3 separate regions of the Homo sapiens genome follow, and all the other regions are linked to region 1. The links are contacts of gene promoters, found by promoter capture Hi-C in human tissues and cell types (Jung and others, 2019). All regions are on one chromosome and are shown on one strand. The core of a region is centred on a gene start or on the middle of the fragment in contact, and the rest is flanking DNA. Distances in the headings are between cores, read along the strand shown. Region 1 holds the start of PPP1R17 (protein phosphatase 1 regulatory subunit 17). Region 2 overlaps PDE1C (phosphodiesterase 1C). Region 3 has its middle 11 kb from the start of NEUROD6.

What was found. Contacts are between HindIII fragments. The study calls those that stand out against the background at their distance.
Region 2: a contact is called between a fragment that was not itself captured here and the fragment with the promoter of PPP1R17 in region 1, in 1 of the 25 tissues and cell types used here (mesendoderm cells).
Region 3: a fragment that was not itself captured here is called in contact with the fragment with the promoter of PPP1R17 in region 1 in 6 of the 25 tissues and cell types used here (H1 embryonic stem cells, mesenchymal stem cells, mesendoderm cells and 3 more).

Annotation. Positions count from the first base shown.
Region 1 is chr7:31,685,325-31,689,238 of GRCh38, forward strand. It overlaps PPP1R17 (protein phosphatase 1 regulatory subunit 17), which reads left to right and starts at 1,891. Exons shown (of 5, transcript NM_006658.5): 1 at 1,891-1,982. It also overlaps a transcript of PDE1C not described here. The HindIII fragment of the contact is 11,578 bases long and covers 1-3,914 here.
Region 2 is chr7:32,053,932-32,057,845 of GRCh38, forward strand. All of the region lies in intron 1 of PDE1C (phosphodiesterase 1C), which reads right to left. Among named protein-coding and RNA genes, the nearest start is that of PDE1C, 15 kb to the right of the region's middle. The HindIII fragment of the contact is 3,574 bases long and covers 125-3,698 here.
Region 3 is chr7:31,349,831-31,353,744 of GRCh38, forward strand. No RefSeq gene overlaps it. Among named protein-coding and RNA genes, the nearest start is that of NEUROD6, 11 kb to the left of the region's middle. The HindIII fragment of the contact is 4,699 bases long and covers 1-3,914 here.

The DNA of each region.
Region 1 (3,914 bases), core at 641-3,140:
ATGTTCTGTATATATTCATGTAAATATCAACATACTGGTTTTGATATTGTAGGATAGTTTCATAAGATGTTACCATTGGATATAACTGCTTACGTATAGGAGATCTCCCTGTATTATCCCTCACAACGACATGTAGATCTATTACCTCAAAACAGTTTAATTCAAAAGAAGAATTCAAGGATTTCAGAAGGAAAGTATATCTTTTCCACTCAAGTGTGGACTGAAGATGCTGCTAACTCATTGGCCAACAAGGCTGTTGTTAAGAAGATAAAGTAAGGCAGGGTTTAATGCCTAGGTGATGGGTTGATAGGTCCAGCAAACCACCATGGCACACGTTTACCTATGTAACAAACCTGCACGTCCTGCACATGTGTCCCAGCACTGAAAATAAAATAAAATTTAAAAAATGAAGAAGATAAAGCAGGCAGTTTTGAACACAGACCTGCTTCTAGGCCCTGTCCCTCAACATCTAGGGCCTTCCCTTCCTAGACAAGAGCATCACCTTTCAGCAACCCTCATCTCTTCCCAGGAGGTCCCAATAAGGATCAACACAAAATGGAACAGGCAAAGAAGTCCATTCTCTGCTTATCTGTTACCATGGCAAAAGTCTAACCCTAGGAGTCAACCTCTTGGTGAGTTTACTATGGTTCTAGCCCTGTTATTTGGGATCCTGGCAAGTGGGAGGGAGGCACCAACAAACACATTGCCAGTGGCAAGCAGGCAGTTGAAACCAAGGGGTTGCCAGGGACCTGCTCTGCAGGGAACCTCAGGTAAGACTGGAAAAAATATGGATGTGTGGATGGTGCTCACGTATCTTCTGTGAGAACATATTTCTTGGGCATCACTGGGTGGTCCATTGGCTGCTATCAGGGGGTCTGGAGCCCTTCTAGTGGGTCCTGATACCTACCTGATCTCCCAGACTGGCCTTCCTGCTTTGGAGTCAAAACTGCTGCTCCTCCAAACCCCAGTGGGCTCTCCTCCAGTGAGCAGACCCAAAACATAGAACCTTCCTCTCCAAAAGACAGCATGTCTCCCGCCTCTCCCACCTTGCTTAAACATCCACTCTTGAGTGCCTACGTATTCCTAATATTGGTACATTTGGCTTTGTTCCTTTGAAGGAGGAAATTTTTTCTGGCCTGCACACTATAACCTATAGAGTTGGGGGCTGCTTTCTTTGCTATGTGCTGTTTGAAATGCTCTCTTTGCTGAGAGGTATTGCAAAGTGGTTACAAGCGTGGACCCTAGCATTTCATTACCCCATTCAAACCCTAGCTTCACCATGTGGGGAGACCTTGGTCAGATGATTTGGTAACTCTTGAGCCCCAGCTTCCTCATCAATAAAATGGGATGATGACTGTAGCTCATCTCACAAGGTTGGCCTGAGGGTTAAGTAAGTAGATATGTGTGAAGTCTCTAGAAGAGTGTCTGGCATTTTGGTAGCCTTACATAAATGTTAGCAGTAGCTACCCTTCTCTTCCTCCTCATGATAGTACTTTGAGAAGCAGCAATAGTGATTGAAAGTACTCTGGATTTAAACTTAAATAGCTTTGAGAGTCGAAATTAGCTGTGGCCTCTCTTGGGCATATCACTTAACTTCTTGTGCCTCAGTTTCCATATTTACAAAATCAGGCCAAAAAAAATCTATCGCATGGGAATTCAATGATGTAGCTGGTTTGTCTGAATTTCTCTGGTGTGCACACCGGAAACTCAAAGCACGACTCTATACTGTACTTTTGTAATGTACAATGATTGCCGTGGAGAGCAGCGATGGAGATGTTAGTCCTCTTTCCTTCTCCATCCCCCTTGCCCTGGTGCCTGTGAAACAGAGCATCCCCATGGCAACAGCAGCAGCTGGTCCCTAGATAAGAGGAGCTGGAGCCGGCCAGCAGCAGCCACTGCCGCAGAGGAGCCAGGCCCAGCCTCGGTGAGCACACACGCCCTCCCTGTCTCTCGCCTTCGCTTCCCTGCATCTGCGCTGATTGGTAAGTGCTTCAGATTTTTACTCCAAGAACTTTTGTGGTGAGAAAAGCAAGTTTCCAGTCAGTTACTGGGACAAAGAAGGCTGTAGCTGGTGGCACGGGGTTGTGCTTTATGGAGCAAGGCTAAGCTGGGGCCGAGTGGACAGCAGAAAAAGTTACCACTTTCAAGTCATTCTTCCAAGGGAGGGAATGGAGTTCTGTAAAAGACTGAACCCTCACAAACTCATTTGCAAAGTTTCAAGATGAAGTTGGTGTATCTGCATATTCACACAGGATAGAGAGGTTTATCTTCCAAGGCTGGGGAAAGTACAGAAAGTATGCTTCTCAAAACACATTCTCCATGCCCTACTTTAAGTCAGTCTCTCCTCCAGGAATACTGCCAATTTAGGTTTTCTAAATGAACAAATCTGATTTTAAAAGACGGTACTTTTTGACCTGAATTCAATCCTCTGGTTAAAAAGAGGTTTGACAATGAATATGTATTTTACATAGCCAGAGGGTGCATTAACGAGATACCACATAGGCTGTGGATACAACCTTCTACCCTTTTATTCCATCCAGTAAATCAAGACCTGATTACTTTGGGGGATATTCTTCAGAATACCGTATGGTAAGCTAAGTGTCAACTCGCTTCTGAGAATCAGTTCTATTATGTTCCCAAGATTTAGAAATGGGTTGGTTTTTGTCTTGAACTATTCTCATCTCATTACCAGCTTCAGAGAAGGCCAGAGATGGGATAAAGAGATAATTCTGATAGATCAATTTAGATAGACATATAATCACAAATGGAGGACTGAAAGATCCAAGAAGGTCCCTCACACTCACGAAAATATCAGTGTGTAGGACCTGGGCTCGGGACTCCATGCACATTCTATGGGTAATACTCTCAACAACCCTGGAGAAGAGCCACTATCTTCCCCCATTTAACAGATTTGAAAACTAAATTTTTGAGAGAACAGATAACTGTCCCAAGTTCACCCAGCTAGAGAGTGGTACAAGCAGCCAAACGTTGGCTTCTACCTTATATTGACTCACAGCATCCAATCTTAAAGTTGAGAGGAATTTTCTTCCCATAATTTAAACCGCATATTCTCACATCCAACTGAGAAAACCGCTCAATGATAAGAGAAAAGACAAAAAATCCAGACCAGCTTCTGACCACACACTGAACCAACTAATGTGTTTCAGCTCCGCTGGTGTGCCTGCCTTTCTGCAATATAGTGGGGTCCCTTTTCTGGCACCCAGTTCCTTCCCCCTTTCAGTTCCTGTTCTCAAAAGAGAAGGTGACCTTTGTCATTAACAATCCCTGTGTATTGTGACATCAATTTACATATTGCTGCTCTTAGTGGTATTTGCATTTACAAGTATCTCTCTGTAAAAAGAAAGGTTTTGTCCCTTGTGAAAAGGAAGGTAAGGATTAGTAAGAGGAAGTTACAAGAGTTTAAAATCTGAAATCCTGAAATCCTTTCTCAAACCCTGAAATCATATCTCTTGGTCTCTTGCATACTACACTGAATACCTACATTCTGTCAAACAACCACAACCAGAAGAGTAATTCGATCAATACTCTTTCATTCTCTAATTAAGAAATCTGAAACATTTTGAAAACCAAAAGGTTTGTTGTTAAGTTCAACACAAACTCATTTGGTAGCAAAGCCTGACCTGAAAGAATGTGAATTTTTTGTGGTTTGTCTTTATGTCACTTAGTGTGAATATTCATAGTTTTGCTGCAGAAATAATGGATGTGACTGCTGGTGCTCCTTGAGACCCCTCTAGAGCTGTTATATAATTTAAACAGTCCTGATTTCCACAGCACGTTTGACTCCAGGCTTGTCACAAGGGTGGGTGGCCAATATTGCAATGACAGTGGCAGTCCACGTCCCTGTGTGAGTGTTAGAATTCAGAGCCCACACTGAACCAATAAGTGGAAAGAGG
Region 2 (3,914 bases), core at 662-3,161, 370 kb after region 1:
TGATTGCTGGGTGAAATGTCAGCAGGAAGAAATATGGAAGTATACAGCAAGCAGAAACAGAGGGCATGCCTCATGGTCTCAAACCAGTCCAGCAAGCAGGGACTATAAAGTGAGGTAGCAGGAAATAAGGCTGGCAAGTGCTAAGGACAGAGTTAAGTGGGAAGAGTAATAAAATTTATATTTTAGAAAAGATGATACCCAGGGGGAGTGTCACCTCTTGTGGGAAGCCGCATTACACACCCTCTTCTGTGCTCCCACAGCATGCTGAAACCTCTCTGACACCGTTCTCCGTGGCATTGCATTGTCTCATGTCTGATTTTGTGGAAAGGCAACAGGGCTCTGGAGTGTGATAGACCTGGCTCAAAACCTAACTTCACCCACACTAGCTATGAGACCTCAGGCAAGCTCTGTGCTAAATCAAGCTTTCATTTCTGCATCTGTGAAATGGATGAGATGATCTCAAATGAGATAGTGTATTAAATTTGTCATGTAGTGTGCCTGCCATGTAAGAGGCATTCTAAGATTTTTAGGCCCCTTGGTCCCTAGTTCTGAGCTTCTTGAGGTCAGAGGTCTGTCATATGCATCTCTATATCTATCCCAAGGGCATGCACGTTAACTGGCACATGGTTGGCTAAATAAATGAACTATTTGCAACTGTCACCCATACACATCAAAAGATGGGTTGTGCATCTGGTAGACCCAAAGAAAGACAGACCAGAAGTCTGATTTTCAGTCCAACTCACCTTCCTGACACGCCCCTCGTTCATAGATATATTCTTAGCTTCAGATATTGTAAAGTTTCCCCCTTCAATCTTCTCCCATTTAGACACAGCCCTAAAATCAACCCAAATGGTATCATCTTACAATGGAGTTTGGAGGTCAGCTCTTAAAGCACAAGAGAAAATGCAACTCATAAAAATTACTCAAGATCCAACTCTCAGATTATTTTGAATGGGCAAGATTGGTGAGGCCTGACTGAGCCCTACTCATCCTTCAGTTCTCAACTGAAACATCACTTCCAAAGACCTTCTAGGGCCCCCCAAACTGGGTAACACTCCTTCTGTGTGTCCCATAGTGGCCAGAGCTTACCCACCACATTGCACTTATGACTGCTCATGGTCATGATCTGTTATTCTTATGGAAAGAATGATGGCTTACCTGACATCTGCTAGTGTTTCTTCCTTGTCATGGCAACTGCTCAATATGTTGTTATTGAATTCATGAATGCATTTACCCAAAAATTGATCAAAAATGCTTTCTTTTTATTCTTTTTCCTTCTACTAAGCAATGATTTATAATGAGCAGTGAGGACATCCACCACAGCTGTGGTTTCCTACACACAGAGGGAAAGCAATGAGAAGGCTGGGGAGCTCACATTTGTTGAGCACCTCCTCTGTTCCATTCCTCTTACACAAGTTAACTCACTTACAACTCCTGCAAACCCTGAGAGGTTCTACCTACTTTCGACTTGACAGAAGTGAGTCTCAGAGAGGTTAAGTAACTTGCCTAAGGATACAGAACCTTAAAGTGGCTGAGACAGAAGGCAAATTCTGAAGCCTTCAAAGAAAATTAAGGAATGTATACAAAGAAGGCAAAAGATTCCACCAAGAAACTTAGACACTAGATAAAACCAAAATAAAATTAATAACAATAAAACATACTGCATTCTGTCCACCAAAATGCAGGAAATGAGCTGGAAAAAAAACCCCAGTTTATTCTTGGCCTTCTATTTTTAAGAACTTCAACAGAATCCCTGACTCGCAATCTGAAAGACAAAGGGAATTTTTTTTTGCTTTGTTTTGTTTTTGAGAGGGAATCTCACTCTGTCGCCCAGGCTGGAGCGCAGTGGCGCAATCTCGGCTCACTGCAACCTCCTCCTCCTGGGTTCAAGCGATTCTCCTGCCTCAGCCTCTGAGTAGCTGGGATTACAGGTGCATGCCACCATGCCCAGCTAAGTTTTGTATTTTTAGTAGAGATGGGGTTTCACCATGTTGGCCAGGCTGGTCTGGAACTCCTGACCTCAAGTGATCTGTCTGCCTCAGCCTCTCAAAGTGTTGCGATTACAGGCATGAGCCACCATTCCTGGCTTGTTTTTAAAATTTGTTTCTAAAACTTAATTTAAATTTGTAATATTTTGAAACTTGAAACAACACACTACAAATCTCAAGATTTCATGTAGCTAGACCAAGCTGATGTAGAAAGTAGAGAATGACAAAGAGCTGTTGTGTTCTGGGACCTGGCAAATTTGGCAGGGTGGGAGATGGAGAGGCCAGCTTCATGCTGGGAGAGAAGGCAAGGGCATCTTCACAAGGCCAGGCTGAGGACACCACTTCAAAGAAGGTCTAGAGTGGCACTTTGCAAAGTCTGTTCCCTGGAATGGGTCCACCGTTCTCTCTCTCTCTCTCTCTCTCTCTCTCTCTCTCTCTCTCTCACTGAAACACACACACACACACACACACACACACACACACACAGCTTCATCTGTTTGTCGTTTCTGTTTTTCTAAGGGGAGGCATTACAGCATACTGCTCAAGATCACTTGCCTGAGCTTTAATCCCTTCTCCAACTTATTGTGTCCGACAGGCTGCATGACCTTTAGCAACTTATATCACTTCTCCAACCACTGGTTTCCTCATCTGTAAAATTTGGGTAACAGCAGTGCCTGCTTTACGGGGTGATGTGAGAGTTAAATGTAATGATGACTGCAGGGCATTTAGCATAGTGCTGGGCATCCTGGAAATGCTCAAGCGTCAGCTACTGTACTAAAAACAGTAGTATTGCATAAATAATAATGGCATTATAATTCAGTAGGTTTTCAAAACTTACTTGATCAAAAATCTTTCATTGATTTTAAAAGTCACAAAAAAAAGGTTGAAGATTGCTTTTCCAGAATGGAAAAATTGGATACTCCCAATTTTCCTTATCTTGGAACACTTGAACCACAAAGAAAGCAGGTGCTAATCTCAGTTCTGCTAAGAGGAGAATGAGCTGAAACACTGCCCAGCTTTTCCCATGCATAAGGGGCCGTGTGCCTGCCTGTACACCCTGCCACCCACCCCAGCAATGTCCCACTTAACCTAGCAGAGCCACACACTCCCCTTAAATGTCAAAGCTGAGCCATTGCCCAAAAGGCAGGAGAAAAGAAAGTAAAACTGGATAGTTATGAACTGGATATCACAATAATCCTTGGAAATATCTAAAATTATCTTTCAAAGAAAGTCCTTTTTATCAATAACTCCCTAAAAACTGAGCCCAGTGACTTGCTTACACACATCCTTAAGCAGTCTCAGGAAGTTGTAACTCAATGCGGAGATCTCATGTGCTATGGCTAGAATTATTGATTAACCCATACTCATTTAGCTCTTAAGTAAATTAAAAGACCACTAGTCTTAATGTCTGTTTATGTCCGGAATGTTTCAATGGAACTGTGGATTACCCAAGAAGTATTAAATGATGCATGTGTGTGTGTGCGTGCACTTGTGCACAACAGGGGACATGAACCCCAAAACCCCCCTCAACGGCTTCGGTCCATTTACAGGCAGCTGGTCACATCCTGACAGGCAGATTCTGAAATAGGAGCATCATCAAAGGGCAAAGAGCACTGACCTCCAGTATTTAAATAGGTTCCCCAAAGCTCTCCACGGCAGTGTCATAAAGTGGAAGCTTCTAGACCCTGAACTTCATTTTCCTTCTCCTGCCCTCAGTCAGGGAGATAAAGAATGAAACTAAGCAAGCTTAAGGGGTGATTCTGTCCACAGTCAGGGGCAAAGTAAAGATAAGCAGGCAAACAGCGAGAAACAACAGTGAGGTGGGAGCAAGGATGCTTTTAAGGGTCTTTATTTGCTTTTTGATGGCTAGGAGTTCCCAGAGTACTGGGCACACCTGCAGTCAAATGTAAGCATCAAGTACTCCAG
Region 3 (3,914 bases), core at 629-3,128, 340 kb before region 1:
CGTATTATTTGACAGATTAATTTAAAATAAAAATTGAGGAAGGGTGGGAGAGTTGAGTATAAGGCATTTATGTGAAATGATTTCTCAACTCTTTGTGAAGAAAAGGCAATGTCTGTGGCAATGTCCTGTGGTTGGTCATTCAAGCGTTCAGGGTGTAGGTGGAGAACATGTATTATATTGTCAATGAAATCAATTATTCTGAAGGTATTATCTAGACCTCTGCTTGCAATTTCAGCACCTTGGACTAGGAAATATGGCAATGTTTTAAGGACAAATAACTTCTTAGTGAAGCTTGAGCCAGACTACAAATCTTTCAGTGACTTGAACTTCTTGGCTGTGCATACTCCAATTCTTTCCTACATAAGCCTTGCAGCCTTTGCTCTTTGTCTCTACCTACTTTCAAATCTCTTGGTGGCTTTGATGGAAGGAGTACATTGCACACCAAGAAGACACACAGAAAGCATTTTCAGTCCTGATGTTTACACGCTTGCAGACAGAAGCTGGCAAGGTGAGTTTGGAAACTAAAGCTTTAGGTTGAACAGCTGACCTTGCTAAAGCCACAGATTCAAATGGAAAAAGGCAGGAGCTAATCACCACCAAGGGAATGCACTTATTTGTCCTGGGATGTAACATATGCAGTTAGGTCTTATAACCCCTAGAACACATTAAAAAAAATTTCATGGTTCACACCTTACAGGAATAAACAGCTAGTGAATCCTAAGGAAAATGAAAAAGCTCAAATCATTATTTGTCTTTTAGTATTTTAGACGTCTGGTTGGTTGGCTCTGTTTTGTTGTCAAATTTCATCTAATTACAATATATTTTTCATTTGTGTTTTAAAATAGCAATCCTAACCCACTGTTATTATAACATATGTGGTAAGTTGTTATTCCCAGGGTGGTGATAAATTTGTGGTGATCCATTCACATCCTCATGGGTTGGAATTAATCTTTCTCCTCTGATTTCCCACTACACTTTGTGCTTCTATTATTGTGCTTAGTGTAATTTGCTTTGTAGTATAGCTATTTGTGACTGCATCTGTCTCCCCTACTAGACTGTGAGGACAAAAATGATCTCGGATTTCTGTTTGTTTCATTTGGCTTTGCAGTACCTGCATCACATAACACACTGATTTGCACATAGTAGGGACTCAATAAATATTGATGGTAGAATCAATTGATCAATTACAGTTGCAGCAGATTTGGCTGAAGAATACCTCAGAGCAATGAGGCCCATCTGTCAATAAAAGCTGTGATCTTTGCCTCATTAACACCATGGCTAAGCAATGAAATAAAAGTCAGTGACAAAAGGCTTTGTGTCCCACATACCATAAGCTAGATTGTAGATTATGTAATTCCTTCAGCAGTAAAAAATCCTTCGGAAAGCAAGAGGCTATATAGTAGCAATAATGATCCATAATTTTATACAGTCTGCATGTGAAGGTTGACCCCAGCATACTCTCTCCTGGCTTTTTCAAAGGAGCAAGGCTGTCCAGTGCTAATTATTTCTTTCAAAGTCTAGAATAACTTTTTCACTGAGCAGTTTGCATTTTGGCCGCCAATACTGGTACAAGATCCAGTCTAATATAGTGGCACATGGCTTTCGATTCTGTTATTAGCCAGTGTCCTTTTCTGGAGGAAATATATCATTATATCATTGTTCTTTTGATTCAGAGTTCAAGCATTCCCAGGCTGGGCTTTCTACCACTGGCAAGATGTGGGTTTGGCTTGTTGGTGGTGAAGCTAACTTACATTACACCGGCTCAATTAGTTGCACCGCTGCTTTCTGTTGAAAGGTGTTGGACATCGAAGAGAACAGAGGGGCAGTTCTTCATCCTGCCCTATTTGACCCTGCTCGTTCCTCAGCTGCTGAGGCAGCACATATATTTGGTGGACTGATAAGGAATGGGAAACACATGATATTGACAACATTTTTCTGTTCTCCAAAGCAAAAATCCTTCCAGATTAGCACCTCACTTCCAAATGATCCATGTTGGGAGGAGTCTGAAAGAGAATTAGTGAAGAAAGTGAAATCGAAATAAGTAAATATGTTATGCATTTGGGATTAAAGGCCAGACAGGACACCTAAAACCAGCATGTAACTAACTAACCACAATTATCAAATGCCTGGCATGGTCAATGAACAGAACGTGATCCTGTGCTTGAAGAGCATTTAGACACATGCAGACCTACTGCTGAAGCAGTGGGGTATGAGCCATAGGAGCCTGCCTCTTTTATGTCTGAAATGACCCTAGACATTTTCAGTGGTGATGGCAGTAAAAACATATACTAGCCCCTTGGGAATTTTTATAAAATGAACATTCCAATCTAGGAGAATAATTTTTCTACAATTAGAAAGAACAAATCAAGTTACGGCCTTTTTGAGTGCTTGGTTTTTAATATTTCCTCAGGAGACCAGACTTATTTTTATTTTTTCCGTGGAAATTCCAGTCATAACTAAACAAAAAGTGAAAATTGTGCACATGAGGTGATGTGTCCTTTAAATCCAAATCTCTGGGCAGTGTGGAATTATAACTTCTGTGGGCTCTAGGCACTTTGATTTTTTGGGTTCTGGTATGGTTTGGCTTTATGTCCCCACTCAAATCTCATCTCAAATTGTAATCCCCAGGTGTTGAGGGAGAGACCTGGTAAGAGGTGATTGAATCATGGAGGTGGTTTCCCCCATGCTGTTCTCATGATAGTGAGTGAGTTCTCACGAGATCTGAGGTTGTTTTAAAGGGCTCTTCCCCCTTCACTCTCTCTTGCCTGCTGCCATGTAAGACATGCCTACTTCCCCTTCCACCGTGATTGTAAGTTTCCTGAGGCCTCCTGGCCATGTGGAACTGTGAGTCAATTAAACCTCCTTTGTTTATAAATTACCCACTCTTGGGTAGTATCTTTACAGCAGTGTGAAAACAAATTAATACAGGCCCCTTCCTCCATAAAAATTAAAAATAAATATATTTTATGATTATGTTAGTATGAAGACATAATCCAGGCTGAGTTATATTCATTTTTTATTCTGATTTTTTTCTCGTGGGCCAGTTAAAATATTATGGGCCCTTGGCACTGTGTGTGCTATGCCTAATGGATAAGTCCACCCTGTCCTTAGAGATTGGGTCTGACCAACAGCATTTTAAAAGCTCCACCTGGTTGAGAATCTCTGTGGTGTAAGGGTTACCTGCTACCTGCAAGGGCCTTCAGAATTATTTGTGGAAGTGTCTGCCTCTTCTGCTTTTTCCAACTCTAGTTTTCATAAGCTTCTCACTCTCCATATGAAATATACAGATGATTCAGGGACATGGCAGAATGGGTATACTATTAAGGTTGCCAGATTCAGCAAATAAAAATGCAGGCTACCCAGTGGAATTTGAATTTCAGGCATACTTATAGGTGGGGCAAACTTATACTAGAAAGTACTTGCTGTTTATCTGAAATTCAAACTTAACGGGGCATCCTGTATTTCACCTGGCAACTCTACATGCTTCCTTTATTCTTGGAACCCAAAGTCTTTCTTCCTCATAAAATACACTTTATGATGAATATGCTAGGCACTAATCAAGTGTTTCTTAAAGAATGCTCTGTAGACTATTAGGAATCACATTTTAGAAAAAGAGTCGTGTGATTAAAAATGTGGATGTTTTTTCTTCTTTTTTGAGACAGAGTCTCGCACTGTCACCCAGGCTGGAGTACAGTGGCATGATCTTGGCTCACTGTAGCCTCTGCCTCCTGGTTTCAAGTGATTGTACTGCCTCAGCCTCCTGAGTAGCTAGGACTACAGGCCTGCGCCACCACACCTGGCCAATTTTTGTATTTTTAGTAGAGACGAGGTTTCACCATGTTGGCCAGGATAGTCTCCATCTCCTGACCTCGTGATCTGCCCGCCTCAGCCTCCCAAAGTGCTGGGATTACTGG